5 separate regions of the Homo sapiens genome follow, and regions 1, 3, 4 and 5 are each linked to region 2. Evidence: promoter capture Hi-C in 16 types of primary human blood cells and fetal thymus (Javierre and others, 2016). All regions are on one chromosome and are shown on one strand. The core of a region is centred on a gene start or on the middle of the fragment in contact, and the rest is flanking DNA. Distances in the headings are between cores, read along the strand shown. Region 1 overlaps ABCC1 (ATP binding cassette subfamily C member 1 (ABCC1 blood group)). Region 2 holds the start of MYH11 (myosin heavy chain 11). Region 3 overlaps ABCC1 (ATP binding cassette subfamily C member 1 (ABCC1 blood group)). Region 4 overlaps ABCC1 (ATP binding cassette subfamily C member 1 (ABCC1 blood group)). Region 5 overlaps ABCC1 (ATP binding cassette subfamily C member 1 (ABCC1 blood group)).

Region 1 (2,700 bases), core at 37-2,536, 160 kb after region 2:
CCCGCCTCGGCCTCCCAAAGTGTTGGGATTACAGGCGTGAGCCACCACGCCTGACCTGGAGTGTGTGCTTTTGGAATAACCTGCTGTTCCTGCCATCTTGGAGCTAATTAGAGACTGGCATGAGGCAAAGGAAGGAAAAGAAGCTGAACATTTGACTATTGATTGCCTACATATTATTATGAGTGATAGCAGCTGATGCTGATTGAGTTCATGTTTTCAAAGTGCCTCGCAGGGGACTGTGTATGTGTCACGAATAATCTTCCTGACCTCTTGCAGTGACTTGGACAGAATTTCTCAGCCTCAGCACTAATCGACATTTTGGATTGGAGACTCGTTGGTTGTAGGGGCTGTCCTGTGCTTTGTAGACATTTAGGGGTGTCCCTGGCTTCCCCTGACTGGGTGCCATAACACTCCCAAGTTACCACAAAGAAGATATCCCCAGACACTGCCAGATGTTTCCTGGGAGGCAGAATCACCCCTGGTTAAGAACCACCGGTGGTTTATAGGTGGGGAATCTGAGGCACAGAAAGGTTAAATAAGTTGACAAGATCCCACAGCCAGTGTGAGAGAGCCAGGCCTTGATACAGCTCTGTTTCACTCCCAAGCCCTGTCTTCCTCCCATCAGGCAGCGGTGAGCAGTGAGACTACCCGTGATGGAGCCGGCTTTCTGCCATTACATCCCGGGGGGAGCTGGGAGCCCCTGGGGAGCCTGCAGTGTCCCTGTGGCTGAGTGGGTTTCTGCCACCTGCTCTCAGAATGTGATCTTGGTTTTTTTTTTTTTTTTTTTTTTGAGATGGAGTTTTGCTCTGTCACACAGGCTGGAATGCAGTGGCGTGATCTCGGCTCACTGCAGCCTCCGCCTCCTGGGTTCAAGTGATTCTCCTGTCTCAGCCTCCCGAGTAGCTGGGATTACAGTTGCCCACCACCACGTCTGGCCAATTTTTGTATTTTTAGTAGAGACGGGGTTTCACCATGTTGACCAGGATGGTCTCCAACTCTTGACCTCAGGTGTTCTGCCTGTCTCGGCCTCCAAAAGTGCTAGGATTACAGGCGTGAGCCACCACACCCAGCCCCAGAATGTGATCTTTTTCTTCCTTCCTTCCCCACCATGTAGGATGCCCAGGTGGACCTGTTTCGTGACATCACTTTCTACGTCTACTTTTCCCTCTTACTCATTCAGCTCGTCTTGTCCTGTTTCTCAGATCGCTCACCCCTGTTCTCGGAAACCATCCACGACCCTGTAAGTGTGACCACAGATGAGTGTGTGTGCGTGTGTGTGTGAGAGAGATGCGTGACACAGTACCAGCTAACATTTCTTAGATCCATCCAGGATCTCGTTCCAGCCTCCCTCAACCCCTGATACAGGGAATATCATCCCACCTACTTTACAGATGGAAAAACTGAGGCTTAGATGTGGCTGGGGGAGCTGAAGGAGAGAATCTGCTTTGTCATTGATGAACTGCTGTCTTGCAGGCCTGTAGGTTTCTCACTTGGCATGGTGATTTTGGAAAATGTGAGCAGATAATTACAAATCAGGTATTTTTTATGAATTCTAGCTGTCCAGATGTTCTGGAAAAGTAAAGTTCTGACAGATTAGGCCTATAATCCTACAGGGCAGAGCTGAGGAGTTGCTGGAGTCCCCGGCACTCCCTGTTGTATTATACTGGCATGCTTTCCTCACTTGTGGCAAATGCCTGGCCCCTGAGGGATTTGAGTGTGAGATCCTTGGTCTATTTTGTCAGTTTCAGAGAAATTCTGTAAATATGGAAACTTATCAGTGAGGAGTGTAGAGATGGCCACCGTTTCTGCTAGTAGAACAAAAGGGAACACTTTATTAATTTCCCTTAATTCTTTTCTTCTTTTTTTTGAGACAGGGTTTTGCTCTGTTGCCTAGGCTGGAGTGCAGTGGTGTGATCTCGGCTCACTGTAGTCTTGACCTCCTGGGCTCAAGCAATCTTCCTACCTCAGCTTTCTGAGTAGCTGGAATTACAGGCACACACCACCATGCCTGGCTAATTTTTTTTCTTTCTTCAACTTTTATTTTAAGTTCCAGGGTATAGGTACAGGATGTGCAAGTTCGTTACATAGGTAGATGTGTGCCATGGTGATTTGCTGCACAGATCAACCCATCATCTAGGAATCAAGCCCAGGATCCATTAGCTATTCCTCCTGATGTTCTCCCTACACCTGCTCCCCAACTTGGCTTACTTTTAATTAATTAATAATTAAAGATGGGGAGATGGTCTCAAACCCCTGGGCTCAAGCGATCCTCTTGCCTTGGCCTCTCAAAGTGCTGGGATTACAGGTGTGAGTCACCACGCCTCGCCTATTCTTTATTTTTTTAAATAGAGATGGGATCTTGCTGTGTTGCCCAGGCTCATGTGCAGCTTTTGATAAGAGAGATCTGGGAAGGCCTGCCCAGAAAACTGCATGTGAGCGGAGACCTAGAGGGGTGAGGTAGTGGGTGGAGCAAACACCTAGAGGAAGAGTGTTCCAGGCAGAGGGGAATAAGTACAAGGGCCCTGGGGTGGGGAGGTGTGGAGAGAACAGCAAGAAAAGCCAGCACAGCAGGAGAAGGCTAAGAGACAGTGGGTGCCTGAGAGGTGGGACAGCCCCCTTGTGAGCCAGATGAGCTGTTTGGGTTTTATTGTGAGTATGGGGCAGGGAGGCCTTGGAGCACCTATTTGATGCTGATTCATG
Region 2 (2,700 bases), core at 9-2,508:
AATTCTAAAATAGTATCGTTGAGTAAATCAAAGAAACAAAAAACTATGCAAAGCAGTTTATTAATAGCCTGCATTCTTTTTGCCAAACCCCGGACGGACAGTTCACCATTTAATCTCTCAGTTCTTCATACTGCAACTAAACACTCCCACCTTGGGTTTCTAAATATTTTCTTTTACTTCTTGACAAGCATGGCTTTGGATGGTACCTTTTCTCAAGTGGCAAAATCCCTACCAGACCCTGTGCTGGAAGAAAACTTACAACAGGCAGTAGCCACACTTTCTCTCGTTTTACCCATTTGGTTGGGCACGAGAGTGGCATTGACACAGGTGGCTCTGCGGGAAATTCTAGTGTAATCTTACCTAACGCACCTGCAGATCGTGGAAGCAAATGGAGACTTTGGAGCCCACCTGGGTATCTGGGGGCCCTTTGGGGTCAACCTGGGTGAGTTGTTTTTTTTTTTTTTAATTTGGAGAAGAGGAAAAAGTGGGCTGTAACAAACTAGATCACAACCAGCCTTATCTCCCAGGGGTTCTCAACATAGAAGAACCTCCCCTAAACTGATTAAAAAAAAAAAACAACAACACTCCTTTCTGCTAAGCCTATGCCCATGTGTTTTTAACTGATTTAATGCATTATCAACACAACTGTGCAATACGGTCAAATCCACAAGGAGCCTCACTTTGCCCTTCTGTGTGATAGCAAGTGACTTTTCAGTGAAGTTCAGCTGTAAATTTTTTGGTGCCTAGAATAAAAGTGAGATGCCTTGATTGTCTGCACCGGACCTCTGAGATTTCCAAGGGAGCATATCTCCTGGATTAGCCTCTTAACAAGAATCACTCGGGACTAATTTTTTTTTTTTTAAGGCAGTTTTTCTGGGGATTCTAGAGTTGGGAAATGGAGTTGGGTCCAGGCATTGATATCGTTAATAAGCACCCCCAAAATGGTACTTCTCACTGGCAATCTTAAGAAATGCTGTTTGGGGAAAGTCTAGGATAATCTAAGACGATAAGGCAGAGAGAGATCCAAATCACAACTCTGCCCCCACCATGGCCCTTACGAGGTTGACAACAGGGACCCCTAAGTGCACCCCAGCCCCTATAGAATACCCTATAGGACTTTTAACACCCCCCTGCCCTGCAATCTGCCCCCAGAATGACAACTACTACTTACAGATCTCCAACTGGGGGGACTAGTGGAGAGGAAACTGGATGGCGAGCTCGGATCTGACGCACCTCCCAGGCCGGAGCGTCCAAATCTCCCTGCGCGTCCTCGGACGCCTCTCTTTATAGACCCGGAGCTGCCCGCGGCTGGGAAAGGGGAGGAGGCCGAAGGGGTGGAGTTGGGGAGGGTCCCTCGCGGCCCCCTCGCCGCGCCCCCTGCAGGGCGCACCCCCGGCGGGAGCGCAAGGAGCTGGGGCGCTCGGGACAAGGGTGCACGGAACAGGTGCGCACCGCACAAGGGCGCACGGAACAGGTGCGCACAGGGACGGGAGTCTCAGCCCCGGCCCCAGGCGGTCGCAGACGCTCCGGATCCCTAGAGAAAGGGGGTCGAGCAGGCAGTGTCTGTGCGGGATGCTTGAGAACGTCTTCCCTGAGTCGGTTCCGGCCGCAAAGGCTTTAACCTCTTCCTCCCCGTGTCGGGGCTGTGGTGGATCTGACTTGACATCTCCCACCCCACTTCCCATTTTATTGGCATCGCACTGTCTGGAAAGAGGGCCGGCTGTGCAGCGTGAAGGGTAGGGAAAGGGGATTTCTTGAACTTTGCAAAGTGCAAGACAGGAGGCCCCCACCCTTGCTGGGAACCGTGCAGGAAGGGGAAGTTTTTACTTTTCCCAACTTGCCATCTCCACCTCCACCCACATCACCACGACCAAAATACAAATAAAAATTAAAAATAAGCCCACTGTGATTATTTCAGCTGTCCCCCTCCCCTGTGCGCCACTCGCCAGCTGCGTGACCTTGGGCAAGTCACTTCACTTCTCTGAGACTTGGTGTCCATAGCTACAAAATGGGGGAAGGCGGTGGCGGTGATAATTACGTTATTTACAAGATGCAAGTGTCAAGATCCAAGGAGAAAGTGGGTGTGCCCCCAGAGTCTGCGAGTTCCCTTCAACAACTTCCCTTCCCCAAGGATTCCTCGCCTAAAATTGCATTCCCTGTCTCTCTCCATCACAGGCTCTCTCGCTCTGTCTCTGCCACTGTCTCTGCATGTCTGTCACTCTGATCATTGCTGTCTCTCGCTCTATCTTTTGTCTCTGTCCCTCTCGCTTCTCTAGATCTGTCGATGTATCTGTCTCTCCCTCCTGTCTCACTTTGTCTCTGGTCTCTGTGTCTCTTGCTCTCCATCTCTCCCGCGTGTCTCACTCCTATCTCTGCGCTTTCTCTCTCTCTCTTCCCCAGGCTCTCCGTCTTCTCCCCGTCCCTCCCTCCCCGCTCCTGTCCACGCACGCACACACAGGCCATAAAAGGAAGTCGAGGCGGTGGGCTGGCCCCGCGCCAGGCCGGGGACCCGCGGGCAGCCCGGGCGCTCCGCTCCCCGCGCGGCACCAGCTCCTCCGAGGTTCCCGGGCCGGGCCGGGCCGGGCCGGTCCCCCTCCCCGGGAGCGGCGGGAGCGGCGGGCGGGAGACAACCCAAAAAGGGCAGGCGCGGACTCCTTCCTGCAGGAATTCCCAGCGCCGCATACCAGCTCTGGGCTGCCG
Region 3 (2,700 bases), core at 112-2,611, 200 kb after region 2:
TTGTCTCAAAAACAAACAAAAAAGTCACTATGTCAGCAAGGCCTTCCCTGAACACTTGGTTTAAACATTTGCCATCTTCTCCATTCTCCTTTGTTTTATTCACACTTAGCAGCTTCTAGCCAACCTGTGTAGGAACCGTTCGTTATCTATTTACTGTGATATAAGGAGCTTGTGCCAGAATGTAAACCAGTGCCCCCTGCTTCCTGCATTAAGATAGCCTTGCAAGACAAAAAGTGCGAGCTGAGTCGAACGGCACGCTTGGTGCCATAGTTGATCTACATTGTGGTGCTGCGTCCTTATTTTGTCACCAACTGGTCACAAAGTGTGGATTGTCAGTGTCTCATAGGCCACATGTCAAGTGGCATGGTCTAAACACACTCTAAAATTTACTTATTTTGGGCTGGGTGCGGTGGCTTGTGCCTGTAATCCCAGCCCTTTGGGAGTCCAAGGTGGGTAGATCACTTGAGGCCAGGAGCTCGAGACCAGCCTGGCCAACCTGGTGAAACCCTGTTACTGCTTAAAAAAAAAAAAAAAAAAGAAAGAAAAAAAAAGCTGGGCATGGTGGTGCATGCCTATATTCCCAGCTACTCAGGAGGCCGAGACATGAGAATCCCTTGAACCTGGGAGGCTGAGGTTGCAGTGAGCCGAGATCGAGCCACGGCACTCCAGCCTGGGCAACACAGCAAGACCCTGTCTCAAAAAAGTAAAAAAAAAAAAAAATAAGTAAAATAAAATGTACTTATTTTATTGTCTGCTTTTCCCCCACTAGGATGTCAGCTCCAGATGGGCATTTTTGTCGTTTCTCTTGACTGCTGTATCCTCAGTATATAAAACAGTGCATAGCAGGTGCTGAACAAATATTGTCATCCATTGTAAAAAAAAAAAAATACAGAAAGATATAAAATGAAAAGTATATTGTCCTCTCTTCCATCAGTTCCTCCCTTCTAAAGTGACAGTTTCGTGTACGCTTTTAGAGAAAAATGGACAAGCATATAGGTATTTAAAAATACTTTGACAGATATAAATGGAATCATACTGTACATAGTGTTCTCTTTTCTTTGGTTAACAATATATAGTCTTGGTTCGTTCATTCTGGTCTACTTCATTTTAGTTTTTTGGGGGGTTTTGTTTTGAAATGGGGTCTCGCTCTGTCCCCCAGGCTGGAGTACTGTGGTGCGATCATAGCTCACTGCAGCCTTGAACTCCTGGGCCCAAGCAATCCTCCTGCTTTAGTTTCCTAAGTAGCTGGGACTCCAGGTGCACTGCTACCACTCCCAGCTTGTTTCATTTGTGTTCATGATGGATGCTTGTCTGACGTGCAGATGCGCCCTGCTGGAATTACCCTTTCTCCCATTCCTTGCAAAAACAGGTTGTTCCCTGTTTTTTTTGCTGTTATGATCCATGCTACACTGAAAGTTCTGGTACCTGTCCTGGGGTATGGTAATGGGTCTATCCCTGCCTAGCTGGCTTTGAAAAGTTTAAAGACAACAGTGCAACTTACAATTTGCAAAGTTGGCCGCAAATCAGGAGACCATACAGAGATGGACTTTGGAAATTCCCTTTTTAAGCACAGTTAAAAACAGTTAATGGTGAAGGATGACTTCAGATCATGCCCCATGTTTGTTTTTTCTTTCTGTCTTTTTATTAACTGTGTCATTCTTTTTGTAATGTTGTGCTCATTACAACTATTCCTTCTTGGTCAGGTTGGCAAATTATATGTTTTTCTGGCAAGTTTCTGTGAAGCAGAGTTAAACATGTTTATGAATATGAACTTTTCTGTTAAACTACCATCTGCTTCATCTTTGTTGAGTTTCAGGTGGAATGTCTAAGGAAGCTCCAGCTGTTTCAGCATTTGCGAAAGCGTGTTCATGCTCCCACTGAATTTTCTTAGTCTTGCCTTACTTCTCTCAGGGTCTGGAACTGCAGGAGAGATGGTGTTCAAATTCAAGCCTGCATCAGAATCACCTGGAGAGCTTGTTATTATATTTTATTATTTATTCATTTATTGAGATGAAGTCCCAGTCTGTCACCCAGGTTGGATTGCTATGGCACTATCTTGGCTCACTGCAATCTCTGCCTCCCGGGTTCAAGCGATTCTTCCACCTCAGCCTCTGAGTAGCTGGGATTACAGGCATGCAGCAACCATGCTCAGCTAATTTTTAAAATATCTTTAGTGTAGAGATGGTGTTTCACCATGTTGGCCAGGCTGGTCTCGAACTCCTGACCTCAGGAGATCTACCCGCCTTGGCCTCCGAAAGTGCTGGGATTACAGGCATGAGCCACAGTGCTGGCTGTTAGCTTGTTACTATAAAACTCAGCTTTCTGGGCCCCACCCAAATTTTCAGTTTTAGTAGGTCTGGTTGGGGCCTGAGTATTTGCTTTCCTAACATATCCCTAGGTGCTGCTGCTTCTGGTTCAGGTTGACATGTAGAGACACCGGAGTGGATCCTCACTGCCTAAAGTCTGGTCCGTGGACCAGCAGCCATGGCATCACCTGGTGCTTGTTAACGGTGCAGAATTTCAGGCCTCAGCCCAGATCCACTGAAACGGAATCTGAGTTGTAACTAGTTCTCTAGGTGGTGTGTATGCACATTAAATTTCGAGAGAGACTGGCAGAAAGTAGGAGTAAAGAAACTTTTTCTGTAAATACTTTCGGAATTCCGGGCCATACAGTCTCTGTCACAAATACCAGTCTCTTCC
Region 4 (2,700 bases), core at 110-2,609, 180 kb after region 2:
CATCGACTTCCCAAAGTGCTGGGATTACAGGTGTGAGCCACCATGCCCAGCTACCTTCTGGTCCTCTTTTTGTATATCTTTTTCTGCCCGTTGTTAACATCTTAGTGGGGATTGTTTGAAGAATCTTTTTTTGCCCCTAATAAGCATCATCTTTTTTTTTTTTTTTTTTTTTTGAGACAGGCTTTCGCTCTGTCGCTGAGGCTGGAGTGCAGCGGCACACTTGTAGCTCACTGCAGTCCCAATCTACTGGGCTTAGGTGATGCTCCTGCCTCAGCCTCCTGAGTAGCTGGGGCTACAGGCACACTCCCCCATGCCCAGCAGATTTTTGTACTTTCTGTAGAGATGGGGTTTCATCATGTTGCCCAGGCTGGTCTCCAGCTTCTGAGCTCAAGTGATTCTCCCGCCTCAGCCTCCAGAGTGCTGGGATTACAGGCGTGAACCACCATGCCCGGTCTCATCCTTGTCTTAATGACAAACATCGTTTTAAAAAATTAGATGTTTTAAATAATTTCTTCAAGTTACTATTAAAAAGCATCACTGGGACAGTTGATGTAATTTGTTCATGACTACAGGACCCCGGATGCATGCTAATAACATTCATTCTTGTTTTGGAAAATTGTGCTCTAGTTACATAAGAGCATGTCCTGGATTGGAAGAGAATACCTCCAGTTTTTCTTGGGTAAAGGCATGTAGAGGCTGTATGTTAACTTTTTTTTTTTTTTTTTTTTTTTTTGAGATGGAGTCTTGCTCTGTCATCCAGGGTGCAGTGCAGTGGCAGGACCTCAGCTCTCTGCAACCTCTGCTTCCTGGGTTCAAGAGATTCTCCTGTCTCAGCCTCCTGAGTAGCTGGGATTACAGGGACCTGCCACCACATCCAGCTAATTTTTGTATTTTTAGTAGAGATGGAGTTTCACTGTGTTGTCCAGGCTGGTCTCAAACTCCTGACTTCAGGTGATCCACCCACGTCAGCCTCCCAAGGTGCTGAGATTACAGGTGTGAGCCACCATGCCAGCCCTTTAACTGTTTAAGTGGTTCAGAAAAAGATGATGTGTTTGCATGTGTGTGTGTGTTTGTGTGTGCATGTCAATGGATACAGACAGAGAATGATACTGCAAACGTGGCAACGTGTTAACAATGGTGAGTTGAGTGAATTCTTAGTATGATTTGAGTAATTTTTCTATAAGTTTGAAATTATTTTAGAACAAAACATGAAAGTATTTTACCTTTTATTATAAAAGTGTTTAGTCTGCTGGGCACGGTGGCTCATGCCTGTAATGTTAGCACTTTCAGAGGCCAAGGTGGGTGGATCACCTGAGGTCAGGAGTTCGAGACCAGCCTGGCCTACATGGTGAAACCCTGTCTCCACTAACAATACAAAAATTAGCCGGGCAGCACACGCCTGTAATCCCAGCTACTTGGGAGGGTGAGGCAGGAGAATTGCTAGAATACAGGAGGCAGAGGTTGCAGTGCACTGAGATGGCGCCATTACACTCCAGCCTGGATGGAGTGACATAGAAAGATTAATATAATAAAACTCAATAATCTCATCACCCAGATTTCATGCTTACTAATGCTTTGTCATGTCAGCCTTTTTATTTTTTAATTTTTTCCTTCAGCCTATTTTTTTTTTTTTCTTTTTATAGGGTCTGACTCTGTTGCCCAGGCTGGAGTGCAGTGACACAATGACGGCTCTTTGCAGCCTCCACCTCCTGGCCTTGAGCAATCCTGCCACCTCAGCCTCCCGAGTAGCTGGGACTACAGGTGCGAGCCATCATGACTGGCTAATTTTTTTATTTTTACTTTTCGTAGAGATAGTCTCCCTATGTTGTCCAGGCTGGTCTTGAACTCCAGGGCTCACAAAATCCTCCCACCTCGGCCTCCCAGAGCGCTAGGATTATAGACATGAGCTACCGTGCCTGGCCCATATCAGCCTTTTTTAATTTAAAATTTTAAAAAGTTGGCGGGGCACGGTGGCTTATGCCTATAATTCCAAGACTTCGGGAGGCCAAGGTGGGAGGGTTGCTTGAGCCCGGGGGTTCAAGACCAGCTTGGGCAACATAGGGAGACTCTTGTCTCTACAAAAATAAAAAATAAAAAAAAAATTAGCCAGTCATAATGGCTTACACCCAAAGTCCCAGCTACTCGGGAGGTTGAGATGGGAGAACCACTCTAGACCGGGAGCTGGAGGCTGCAGGGAGCTGCGATCGCACCACTGTACTCCATCCTGGGTGACACAGCGAGACCCTCTCTCCAAGTAAATAAATGAATGAACGAATAATAAAAAATAAAAAAGAGCTATCCTGATACTTCGCTCCTAAATCATCTTTTTTTCCCTAAGTCTTTTGTATGCACCACTAAAAAAAAAAAAAGCCATTTTTCCTGCATGACCCAACAGAATGAGCTGTAATTAGCTTGTAATATATGCAAATGTCCATCTGCATTCTGACTTCCCAAGCTGCATGGCTGCCTTCATTTGCAGCGGGCAGCTGTGCTGCAGAGGGGAGCAGCATCAGCAGGCGTGTGGAGTGAGTGAGCCCCGTCCTCCCCCTCCTCCTGTCATTGACTCTCATTGCCTAACCCCCTTGTGTCTTGGCCCCAGGTTGATTGTCCGGGGCTACCGCCAGCCCCTGGAGGGCAGTGACCTCTGGTCCTTAAACAAGGAGGACACGTCGGAACAAGTCGTGCCTGTTTTGGTAAAGA
Region 5 (2,700 bases), core at 101-2,600, 140 kb after region 2:
GAGTAGCTGGGACTACAGGCGCACGCCACCATGCCCGGCTAATTTTTGTACATTTAGTAGAGAGAGGGTTTCACTATGTTGGCCAGGCTGGTCTCGAACTCCTGACCTCATGATCCGCCCGCCTCAGCCTCCCAAAGTGCTGGGATTACAGGCGTGAACCCCTCCACCCGGCCAGCTAAGTTTTTAAATTTTTTTGTAGAGATACAGTCTCACTGTGTTGCCCAAGCTGATCTGAAATTCCTGGCCTCAAACTATCCTCCTGCCTCTGCCTCTTCAAGTGCTGGGAAATATAGGCATGAGCCACTGCACCCAGCTGGTTGTGAGTTATTGAGATGGTTGAATTGGGAGTGGATGCTCAGGCCTCAGTGGAACTTGTGGTACACAGTATGTCCTCATTACCTCCCATCAGTGGCAGTTGAGATTCATAATCACTTTTTCTGCCTGTTGTCTGCCCCATCCTCTCTGTGGCCTTCCCTCCTGTCCTGGAGTTGGCTGGCTGGGTCCCTGGCAGGGCTGCATGCGTTATCCCTGCAGGCCTGCTTGCCTTATCCCTGCAGGCCCTGGTGGAGCATCTGTGCAGAACCTGTGCCATCCAGATGGGAGCAGTAAGGGTGTAGGGCAAAGTTAGTGAGCTGCCCGGTGCACGAGGACTTCCATGATAATCAGGGCTGAACCAGGAAGGCAGGTCAAGGCCAGGGTCATGTACAGAAAGGAGGTCAGCACCAGGATCTTGTATGGGAAGACTTAGATCAATGCCTAGTGCCTTAGTCATCATCATTCAGCCCAGAAAACATGACGCTATGCAACAGGAATTTTATGAACACACAAAGGTCAGGGGCCACTCGGACTTGGACGGGGTCCCCAACTCTTTGAGTGTCAGGGCTGAGGGCATGGAGACACAACTTGATCAAGCTGGTGAAGTGTCCAGCAAGGAGAAGCCTCTGTTGGAGGGAGCCGGGAGCTGGGGAGGACATGCGCTTTCTCTTTTTTTTTTTTTTTTGAGACGGAGTCTCGCTCTATCGCCCAGGCTGGAGTGCAGTGGTGCAATCTCGGCTCACTGCAACCTCTGCCTCCTGGGTTCAAGCGATTCTCCTGTCTCAGCCTCTCACGTAGCCGGGACTCAGGCCTGTGCCACCACGCCTGGTGAATTTTTTTGTATTTTTAGTAGAGACGGGGTTTCACCATGTTAGCCAGGATGGTCTTGATCTCCTGACCTCGTGATCCACCTGCCTTGGCCTCTGAAAGTGCTAGGATTATAGGCGTGAGCCACCGCGCCCAGCCGACTTGCGCTTTCTCTGTAAAGATTTCTGTGGGCCAGGTTCCCCAAAGGGCAGGCCCTGGGCCAGTGCAGTGACCGGTGACCGTGTTCAGGACTCATCTCTTGTGGCTGAATTGTGTGTCTGGAGAGTTGGGTCCTTCTGATTCTGCTCAGAGCGTGGTGGGCCTGGCTGGATTTCCCTAGATTAGGAAGCAGCCTCGGGTAGCTGTGATTCTTTGAGTTGGGAACAGCAAGTGGCCTGCAGACTGCCAGGGAATCGTCCCTTCCTTGAGCCTTTAGGTATTGCCCATTATTCACCGTTTTTCCCAGAAGCCTCCAGTAGTGAGAGTCGCACTTCTTACCTCCTGGAGTTGTTAAAGTAAAGAAGGACACATTAGGGTCCCTGCCGGTAAGGAACATCCAGGAGGCCTCGATACCTTTTTTTTTTTTTTTTTTTTTTCCCTGAGACAGAGTCTCGCTCTGTCACCCAGGCTGGAGGACAATGACCTGATCTCTGCTCACTGCAACCTCCACCTCCTGGGTTTAAGCGATTCTTGTGCCTCAGCTGCCCGACTAGCTGGGATTACAGGCATTTGCCACCATGGCTGGCTAATGTATTTTTTTTTTCTTTTTCAGTAGAGATGGGGTTTCACTATGTTGGCCAGGCTGGTCTTGAACTCCTGGCCTCAAGTGATCTGCCCTCCTCAGCCTCCCAAAGTGCTGGGATTTCAGGTGTGACCCACTGCGCCCAGTCCCGATACTTTGTTTCTTTGAGACAGTCTCTTACTCTGTCACCCAGGCTGGAGTGCCTGGGTGGGACGATCAAAGCTCACTGCAGCCTCAAGCCCCTAGGCTCAAAAGATCCTCCCACTTCAGCCTTCTGAGTAGGTGGGACTACAGGCCTGCACTACCACGCCTGGATAATTTTTAAATTTTTTTGGTGAAGACAGGGTCTTACTTTGTTGCCCAGGCTTTTCTTGAACTCCTGAGCTCAAGCAATCCTCCCGCCTCAGCCTCCCAAAGTGCTGGGTTTACAGGCGTGAGCCACTGTGCCCGGTCCTCAGATGATCTTAGCTTTGTGACCTATGCTGTTGGCCGCTGTAGGGGCTGTGATGGAGGTGATGTGGGGGTGGATGGCAGGGGTGACCCGTGTTGGCTGCTTTCTGTAACAGTCATAGTTCATGGTCAGAGTCAGATTTCCTCTCGTCATGCCTTCCTTCCCTTCCTTCTGCTCCCTCCCACAGCCGCCCTTTGGGTCTGGGCTGGCCATCTGGCTCTGAGCAGGAAGCTAGCCTGTGCTCTTCAATTTGCTTTCTGCAGGGGAAACACCTTCCTTTGCTCAGCGTTTCCTGACCTCTCCTTCCCTGGAGTTCCGGTGTCCTTAAATGCTCTCTGGTTTCTTCTGTAGCTTACTTTCTTGCTTGAAAGGACAACTTTTCTTT

What was found. Contacts are between HindIII fragments. The CHiCAGO score rates a contact against its expected background, and 5 or more counts as called.
Region 1: a contact is called between a fragment that was not itself captured here and the fragment with the promoter of MYH11 in region 2, in 7 of 17 cell types (megakaryocytes, M0 macrophages, M1 macrophages and 4 more). The highest score is 7.1, in megakaryocytes.
Region 3: a fragment that was not itself captured here is called in contact with the fragment with the promoter of MYH11 in region 2 in 10 of 17 cell types (endothelial precursors, megakaryocytes, erythroblasts and 7 more); the score reaches 10.2 in endothelial precursors.
Region 4: a contact is called between a fragment that was not itself captured here and the fragment with the promoter of MYH11 in region 2, in 16 of 17 cell types (M1 macrophages, megakaryocytes, M2 macrophages and 13 more). The highest score is 15.0, in M1 macrophages.
Region 5: a fragment that was not itself captured here is called in contact with the fragment with the promoter of MYH11 in region 2 in 2 of 17 cell types (megakaryocytes and erythroblasts); the score reaches 6.4 in megakaryocytes.

The regions. Positions count from the first base shown.
Region 1 is chr16:16,015,382-16,018,081 of GRCh38, forward strand. It overlaps ABCC1 (ATP binding cassette subfamily C member 1 (ABCC1 blood group)), which reads left to right. Exons shown (of 31, transcript NM_004996.4): 5 at 1,115-1,240. Among named protein-coding and RNA genes, the nearest start is that of ABCC1, 67 kb to the left of the region's middle. The HindIII fragment of the contact is 5,742 bases long and covers 1-2,700 here.
Region 2 is chr16:15,855,770-15,858,469 of GRCh38, forward strand. It overlaps MYH11 (myosin heavy chain 11), which reads right to left and starts at 1,259. Exons shown (of 41, transcript NM_002474.3): 1 at 1,172-1,259. RefSeq lists an enhancer at 2,305-2,700. The HindIII fragment of the contact is 5,018 bases long and covers 1-2,700 here.
Region 3 is chr16:16,056,662-16,059,361 of GRCh38, forward strand. The region is part of intron 12 of ABCC1 (ATP binding cassette subfamily C member 1 (ABCC1 blood group)); the gene reads left to right. Among named protein-coding and RNA genes, the nearest start is that of ABCC1, 110 kb to the left of the region's middle. The HindIII fragment of the contact is 3,716 bases long and covers 1-2,700 here.
Region 4 is chr16:16,033,873-16,036,572 of GRCh38, forward strand. ABCC1 (ATP binding cassette subfamily C member 1 (ABCC1 blood group)) reads left to right here. Exons shown (of 31, transcript NM_004996.4): 7 at 2,600-2,700. Among named protein-coding and RNA genes, the nearest start is that of ABCC1, 86 kb to the left of the region's middle. The HindIII fragment of the contact is 7,809 bases long and covers 1-2,700 here.
Region 5 is chr16:15,996,110-15,998,809 of GRCh38, forward strand. All of the region lies in intron 1 of ABCC1 (ATP binding cassette subfamily C member 1 (ABCC1 blood group)), which reads left to right. Among named protein-coding and RNA genes, the nearest start is that of ABCC1, 48 kb to the left of the region's middle. The HindIII fragment of the contact is 6,033 bases long and covers 1-2,700 here.